Linked DNA regions of Homo sapiens: regions 1 and 3 are each linked to region 2. Evidence: promoter capture Hi-C in human tissues and cell types (Jung and others, 2019). All regions are on one chromosome and are shown on one strand. Each heading gives the region's core, a stretch centred on a gene start or on the middle of the fragment in contact. The rest is flanking DNA. Distances are from core to core; before and after follow the strand shown. Region 1 overlaps TMEM184B (transmembrane protein 184B). Region 2 holds the start of GALR3 (galanin receptor 3). Region 3 holds the start of CDC42EP1 (CDC42 effector protein 1).

Region 1 (2,700 bases), core at 66-2,565, 440 kb after region 2:
CTTCCCTTTTACACTGATGGCAGCTCCGAGACACACCGCCCAGACCTGCTTCTTCCCTCGGCAATCCACCTTGCTGCTCAATCCGGCACAGTGCGTTGAGCGTCCATCTTATGTATTATGGCCACGCGGTATCCCATGTTTAGACGGGCCATGGTTTGTTCATTGGCCCCTGCGAATGAACATTTAAGCTGCCTCCAATCTTTTGCTATTAAAAATAAGGCAACAATGACGAACCTTGCAAATAAATCATTTTGCACACGTGTTAACCCATCCGTAGAATAAATTCTGGGAGGCAGAGCTGCCGGTGAAAGTATAGAAACATCTGTAATTTTGGAAAATATTGCCAGAGAGGCACAGTACATTTAAATTGTTCATCCAAGAAATGAGCCTCAATGTTGGGGGAAATATAGAAAATATGTAGGTTTCTGTTTGTTTTTTGAGATGCAGTCTCGCTCTGTCTCCCAGGCTGAAGTGCGGTGATGCAATCTCAGCTCACTGCAATCTTTGCCTCCCAAGTTCAAGCGATTCTTCTGCCTCAGCCTCCCGAGTAGCTGGGATTACAGGTGCGTGTCACCACGCTGGGCTAATTTTTGTATTTTTAGTAGAGATGAGGTTTCACCATGTTGGCCAGGCTGGTCTCGACCTCCTGACCTCAAGTTACCTGCCCACCTCGGCCTCCCAAAGTGCTGGGATTACAGGCGTGAGCCACCGCGACCAGCCAATACATAGTTTAAAGTTGTCCAAGTGAAGAAACGGTAGAGAAAGGCTGTTTTCAACAAATGGAGCTCTGGGTAGGGACACGGTGCTGAACCCACACCGGCCCCAACTCACTTGGTGCTCTGGTCCACACGCTTGCATTTCCCAGCTGTCAGTAAAAGGCTAGGCCCACTTGGCCCCTTGACCCTTCTCAGGGCTCTGATGTCCTGGTCCCAGGAAGTGTGAACGGTGACCTGAGCCACTATGACAAGCAGCCATAATTGGTCTCCCCAGGCGCCCATGAAGATGAGCAGGCAGGCCAGGTGGGAGGGGGTGGGGGTGCAGAGCCCAAGAGGGCCAAGTGCTTCCAGTCTAGCCATTCCAGATGAGTGGTGAGCACCTCTTGCCACATACCCTGCACAAGCTGCAGGGGACACCACAGCCATGCAAGACCACTCCCACTCCATGACATTCACTCAGCTGGCTCTGCTCCTGGGTCCATCACAGATCTGTTATGTAACTCCTGTGCCCAACAGCCATCACCACCTAAGCATCAAGCCAGGGAGTTGAGGAGATGGAGGCGGGTCTCTGGAAGGCACACCGAGTATCAAGTCAGGACAGCCAACTCTATGTAGAAGCAGGGCAGGCCTTTCTCCCACTTCCACAAATCTGGCCCAACTACTGCAAACTGGGAAAAGAAGGAAAAGTCTTCTGCCCCCGGCCGAGTAGGAGATACCTCTTAGCAAACCAAAGGAAGCATTTGAGAGAAAGAACCCTTGTCAACCTCATCTCCCAGCCCAAGCCGTGCTCCCACTGACTGAGACGGCCAGGCACTCCAGTAAATCAAATCATACTTACATGCTCTGAGGTTACTGCTATTAAAATTATCTAACCTATGCATCCTGCATCTACCTTTCTTCTCAAAGCAAATATGTACTGTTTTGGAAAATCTAGATTTTCCCACATCCTATTTAAACTCCATTGACAAATCTGTGTATAGATGCACTTTCTCCTCCTGGAGATGAGGCTAGGACCCCACATGCTCTGGGAAGTGGTCACGAGACCTCTGCTCCTTGAGTAACCTGCCTGTCTCATTCCTCTGTGTGTGCTCAAGGTGGTCCCACTCCCTGCAAAGACCTCCTGCACTTCACCTGCCAACCTCCACTGTCCACTGAGCCTCAGCCCAACTACCCTTGTTCCAGAGAGCACCGGCTCCTCAGCTCACCCCCAGGCAGAGCCGACTGCTGCCTCCTGGAACCCCCATGGTTTTAACCTGAAGCTTTATTCACGTGCTTTCCAGGTCTAAGCAGCAATCCAATACACTGGCCTTCCCAGTGTGGCTGCAAGCTCTCCAAGGGCAGGTCTGTGTTGGGGGTAGCTACTCAGCAGGAAGGGCCCAGGACTCAAAACCAGAAAACCTGGGTGCTTCCTCCCCCAGGATCTTAGGCAATTCACCCCTCTGAGCCTCAGTCTCTCCATCTATAAAATAGGTGCAATAATTTCAAGGTTTCAGGGCAGTTAAAAGGATTACATAAAACCATATATTTGAAATATAACTTGCAAAGCCCCACAAATTCCAATGAGAATATTAATATAACTAGCATGTTAATATTAATTAATATCCTCACACATACCCTTCACCAACATCTATCATTGTGCCTCGCAGGCACCCAAACTGACTGCTGATGGGATCCCAGATTCACTGCTCACTCTGCATGAAACAAAAACCACAGGCGCTAGAGGTGGGGACCAGGAGGCTCTGCCAGTAGCTACAGCGGCGCCATGGGGTTAGTTATTTTCTCTCGGAGCTTTTCGGTAAATGGGGAACAGCCCTGCTGAGTGGAGTGGAGGTTCTCAGCCACTTGCCAGCAGGAGAGGCCCCATTCTGGGTGCAGGCAGTCCACAGGGGTTGGAGCAGGAGATAAATAAAGGTACCAAGCTCCACACACGTCCCTTGGAGTAGGGGGGCTGTCTGATCTGAAAATCCCTTTGAGGGTAACAGAG
Region 2 (2,700 bases), core at 5-2,504:
AACTACAAAGCAAATCACAGAGAGCGAGATCAATGGGTTACTGGCTGCAGAGAGAGGAAAAGGCAGCAGCAACGCAGAGAGGCAGAGAAGAGCCAGGCAGAAGAGCCTGCCACCTGGGGGAAATCAGGGACTGAGGAGGAAGTGGCCAGTGGCTACTCCAGAGGGAGTGCCCAACTCCGGCTCAGCAGAGGGGGCAGAGGAGAGGAGGGGCCTTAAAGGCAAAGGGGGAGAAGTAGAAGGCAGACCAGTACCTGCAGGGAGGCACCAAGGGGCAGCCGCTGAATCAGGAGGCCCACCCAGCCCGGCCATTCCACCCAGGATCAAGCCCACTGCCCAAGGCGGAGGTGGGTGTTGCCCATCCTGGGCTTTGGGGACCTACTGCATGCTGGGTGCTGGGATGGGGGCAGACATTGCCTTTCTTCCCTACTCCCTGCCTGACCCCCCTTTCCCCTACTTTGTCCCACCACCCCAGTGGTCTCAAGCCTGCAAGGAGATCCACAGGCAGTAGGAGACATGGGCTGTAGAGTGGGATGGGGGTGAGCATGGGTGCGGTGTGCACACACACAAGTTGTCAGAGGCACCACCTGTTACAAGCTCTCAGATGAGCACTCTAGCTTAAGAGGCAGGATACCAGGGTGGCAACAGCCCCAGAGCTGCCATTTCGAGTGTGATATTATCCTCCCATGTCCCCTCTCTGGGCCTCAATTTCCCTATGTGCAGAGAGGAAGCAGTGACCTACACGGTCTTCCCAGTTTTGCCATTGTGATGATCTCACTATACTGGACCCTCCAATGACTCAGGGATGTTACCCGTGTTTTGCTAAGGCTACAGCTTGTAGCCAGAGAAAGCCCTAAACCCATGTCCCAGGGTCTCCCCTGAGCTTCAGATCCCCATTGAGAAGGAAAACATACCAGTTTCTGGGTTTGGCCCCTCCCCCCATCGCCATATCTTCATCCTACTTCGCTTGTGCCTTCCCCAGCCTCGTGGGTTGAAAGTGTCCCTCAAATACCTAGGTAGTCCTCCAGGCAGGACTCCAGGGGTGTTCCTTAGGAAACTGAGGAACTCTCACCCCTTGAACACCACGAGCTTGCTCACACAGTGACACTCAGCGATGACTTTGGCTCTGCTCTCCCCTCCTCCATCTCCCACGAGCTTCCAGCCCAGAACACCTGGCCAGACCCAGGTCGGGGGAGTTAGATCCCGGGGTCAAGCAACCAGAACTGGGGGCTCTTGCCTGAGGATTCCAGCTTCTCTTCCCAGGTGCCCGTCTGATGGGGAGATGGCTGATGCCCAGAACATTTCACTGGACAGCCCAGGGAGTGTGGGGGCCGTGGCAGTGCCTGTGGTCTTTGCCCTAATCTTCCTGCTGGGCACAGTGGGCAATGGGCTGGTGCTGGCAGTGCTCCTGCAGCCTGGCCCGAGTGCCTGGCAGGAGCCTGGCAGCACCACGGACCTGTTCATCCTCAACCTGGCGGTGGCTGACCTCTGCTTCATCCTGTGCTGCGTGCCCTTCCAGGCCACCATCTACACGCTGGATGCCTGGCTCTTTGGGGCCCTCGTCTGCAAGGCCGTGCACCTGCTCATCTACCTCACCATGTACGCCAGCAGCTTTACGCTGGCTGCTGTCTCCGTGGACAGGTGCGCTGTGCCTGGGGCCTGGCTGGGCAGGGCTGTGGGGGCGGGGGTTGGGGGAGGAGTCCTGAACAGATCCTCACTGGCCTTAGGAAGGAGAGAGTGGGGGACCAGAAAGGGAGGTGGGTGGGAGGAAACAAAAGCTCCCTGACCCCTCGCAAGCAGCCTCTGGGCACCTGCAGGGCGTGCTTGAGGGGACTGTCCTGCCCTTCCCCTCCTCCACTGTGAACTTCCAGAGGACGCCTCTGAGTCTCAAGTGGCAGCACAGGGTCTGGCACATAGTAAGTGCTCTGTAAGCGCGAAATGAATCGCAAAAGAAGCTCACGAATGCGTTCATCAGTTTTTTTGTTTTGTTTTGTTTTGTTGTTTTTTTTTTTTGGATCTTGGCTCACTGCAACCTCTGCCTCCTGGGTTCCAGCGATTCTCCTGCCACAGCCTCCTGAGTAGCTGGGATTACAGGCCACCACACCTGGCTAATTTTTTGTATTTTTAGTAGAAACGGGGTTTTGCCATGTTGGACAGGCTGGTCTCGAACCCCTGACCTCAAGTGATCCGCCCGCCTCGGCCTCCCAAGTGCTGGGATTACAGGCGTGAGCCACCGCGCCCAGCCCAGCTATTTTCTAACTGCCCACACCTGGCCAAGCTGTGCACACATCTGCTTCCACAGCTTGAAACTTGGGGTCAAATCCAGGCTCACTCCAGCTGATGACCCTGGGCAAGTCACTTCTCTCTGGACCTCATCTGACGCATCCATAAAATAATCCTAGAAATAACAAGTCACCGGGATCGGGCCCTTGCTAGGTGCAAGGGCCTAAGCACCTTGCGCGTTCACACCCTTAATCCCCGCCACGTCCCCCACGGTTCACAGGAGGCGCACTGGGCCGCAGGGCCCGGGCGCGGGACGTGGCGCGGGCCCCTGCGGGAGGGCACCTGCCCGCCCCGCTGACCAGGCGCCCTCCGCAGGTACCTGGCCGTGCGGCACCCGCTGCGCTCGCGCGCCCTGCGCACGCCGCGTAACGCCCGCGCCGCAGTGGGGCTGGTGTGGCTGCTGGCGGCGCTCTTCTCGGC
Region 3 (2,700 bases), core at 118-2,617, 260 kb before region 2:
CTGCCTACACGTCCTTTAAGACTTAACTCACAACCATGCAGTGGCTCACACCCATAATCCTAGCACTTGAGGAGGCCAAGGCAGGCGGATCACCTGAGGTAAGGAGTTCAAGACCAGCCTGGCCAACATGGTGAAGCCCCCTCTCTACTAAAAAATACAAAAATTAGCCGGGCGTGGGTGGGTGCCTGTAATCCCAGCTAGTCCGGAGGCTTAGGAGGGAGAATCGCTTGAACCCGGGAGGTGGAAGCTGCAGTGAGCTGAGATCATGCCATGGCACTCCAGCCTGAGCAACAGAGAGAGACTCCGTCTCAAAAAAAAAAAAAAAAAAAAAAAAAAAAAAAAAAAAAAAAAAAAGAGAGAGAGAGAGACTTAACTCAGGTATCATCTCCTCTAGGAAGATTTCCTGAGCCCCCAGGCCCTGCAGGAAGTATTAGGGACCTCTCTGTGCCCTGACAGCCCGAGGACTCTATAGTCAGATGGGAGTAGTCAAAGGAGGGCACAACAACGGGAGGCAGGGGCCAGAGATCTATCTCCCCTCCTTGAGGATGGCACAGGGTCCCGGGTATGGCTGATTCCCTGCCCTCCATGGAGGTGGGCGGGGTGGGGGGAGGGTCTGTAAAGTCTCTGAGATGCGACTTCATTTACCTGCCGAGCAAGCCTCCTAGGTGCTCTTGGAGCAGGAAACACTTCACACAACATCTGATGCTGCTATTATCTATCCCACTTTCAGATCAGGAAACTGAGGCAGAGAAAGGTAAGTAGTGACTGAGGCAGGACAGGAGCCCAGGCTGTCCGGCTCCAGGGTCCCGGTCTTGACGGCCACTCTACCCCACTCTACCAGTCGCCCCAGTATGGCTGTCTTCCTCCTGGGCACCGCGGGGCCTGTACCGGATGGAAGGGAATGAGAATGGGGAGCAAAGGAGTGGGCATGTCATGCCTGTAAACATCAAGGTTTAAAGGCCCAGGCATTCAAGGCCTCAGATCGAGCTTCCCGGTTCCCCGAACTCCCGCAGGGCGCGGCTGGAGGGCCCAGGAGGGAGGAGAGTTCATCAGGCCTGGACGCCCCAAGCAAGGCCACGAGGGGAACCGGTGGAAGAGGGGTTGGCGGCCGGGGACCGGAGTCGCCTCCCCGGGGCAGCCCGCACGTTCCCCGGCTGGCCTTGTCCGGGGTGGCGAGCAGAGGCCTGGCCTGGCCCCCCAGCCGCGTCCCTGCCAGCTCTCGGCGGCCGCGAGGACGGTGCCGGGGAGGGGGCCGGGGAGGGGGCCGGGCCCCGCCCGCGGGCGGGAGGAGACGGGCGGGAGGCGGGAGCGCCCACACCCCGCCCCCGCCCCCGGATCCAGCCCGCGGAGCCCGCGGCCAGGGCGGCGCAGACCGGCCCAGCGACTCTCCCGGGCTGCCAGCCGGGACGCGCGGCCGCCGCCGCTGCAGACGACGAGTCCGCCCTCGTCCCGCGCCCCCGGGGCTCGCGGAGCCAGGTAACAGCCCGGGCGCGCGGGTCCTCGGGGCGGAGGCCGTGGAGGCCGGCGGGTCCCGGCGCCCGCGGGGACTCTGCACCCTACTAGGCTCCCGGGGCCGGAACGGGGACGGGACCCGCCCGGGAGAGGCGCCCCCGGGTGCCCACAGGAAGGCCGGGCGCGGCCGCGGAGCCGCGCGAGGAAACTCCGAGCTTTCGGGCTTCGTGTCCCGTTCCAGGCTGGTGGAGGGGGCAGAGGATCGGACACGGCTGAGCGGCCAAAATGCGCGAGGAGGGGGCGAGCCGAGGGGCAGAGCGGGGGCTGTCTCCGCGCCTTCCTGCGCGGGGGAAGGAAGGGCCGGGGCGGGCAGCGGGCGACGCGGCGGAATGTCTCCCCTCCGCCGAGGCCCACGCGGAGAGCGGGAAGTGGGGGGTGGGGGGCCCGGGGAGATGGACAGGCACCCTGCCCCCCTCCCCGACCGCCGCATTCCAGGCTGGAGCCGCGGATGAGGTCATCCCGTCCGGTTCCCCTCCGGCCAAGACAGCCGGTCGTCCCCTTCCCCCGCGGAGCGACCCTCCGCGTCCTGAGCCCCGTCCCCCCAGGGAATGTTGGATGGCCGAAGTCTTTCCCGGACTTCCAATCCCGGCCGCCCTCCAGATTGTTCTGCCTTTGCCCCAGCAGTGCCAGACCCGCAACATTCGAAGCCCTTTTCCTAGACCGGGAAACTGAGGCTTAGAGAGTAGGGGGGACTGGCCGGGAGGCCGCAGCGGCACTAAACGTGGCGCGGGGACCCGAGACGCGGCCCGCAGCCGCTCCGTCTCGCTCGGTCCCGGGCTGGTTCGGCTCTAACTCGGGGCGGTGGGCACGAAGCGCGTCTCCTTTCCACTTTCCCCGTCGCTCCCTAATGGCCCACGGTGCCCCCCTTGGAATACGGAGGACCGGGTCCCCTAGCGCGACTGCGAACAACTAGCTACCCCGTTCTGGCCTCAGTTTCCCCGTCTCTCCACCTTGAAGCGTCTGGACTTTGAGGAGCAGGAGAAGTCAGCCGACCGGTTTAACCCCTTATTCCAGGGACCAGAGCAGGTTTGGGGGAGCTGCCGTAACCATGACAGGGACCCGCTGTCCAGCGGTGGGGGGGGGCGTCACCCAGCTGGATGCCCGCAGGAAGTGGGCTGTGTGCACCCGAGCAGTGGCCTCCAGGATGAGACGTGGGCCCCTGGCCAGCACTGCGGCCTGCGGGTGACC

The links. The method cuts DNA at HindIII sites, captures the fragments that hold promoters and counts their contacts. A contact is called where the count stands out against the background at its distance.
Region 1: a fragment that was not itself captured here is called in contact with the fragment with the promoter of GALR3 in region 2 in 2 of the 25 tissues and cell types used here (dorsolateral prefrontal cortex and stomach).
Region 3: the fragment with the promoter of CDC42EP1 here is called in contact with the fragment with the promoter of GALR3 in region 2 in 1 of the 25 tissues and cell types used here (lymphoblastoid cells).

Annotation. Positions count from the first base shown.
Region 1 is chr22:38,263,385-38,266,084 of GRCh38, forward strand. All of the region lies in intron 1 of TMEM184B (transmembrane protein 184B), which reads right to left. Among named protein-coding and RNA genes, the nearest start is that of TMEM184B, 8.3 kb to the right of the region's middle. RefSeq lists an enhancer at 502-1,002. The HindIII fragment of the contact is 7,395 bases long and covers 1-2,700 here.
Region 2 is chr22:37,822,128-37,824,827 of GRCh38, forward strand. It overlaps GALR3 (galanin receptor 3), which reads left to right and starts at 1,255. Exons shown (of 2, transcript NM_003614.2): 1 at 1,255-1,638; 2 at 2,596-2,700. The coding sequence starts at 1,280. The HindIII fragment of the contact is 28,947 bases long and covers 1-2,700 here.
Region 3 is chr22:37,559,113-37,561,812 of GRCh38, forward strand. CDC42EP1 (CDC42 effector protein 1) reads left to right here and starts at 1,368. Exons shown (of 3, transcript NM_152243.3): 1 at 1,368-1,476. RefSeq lists enhancers at 2,004-2,610, 2,611-2,700, 2,687-2,700. The HindIII fragment of the contact is 19,033 bases long and covers 1-2,700 here.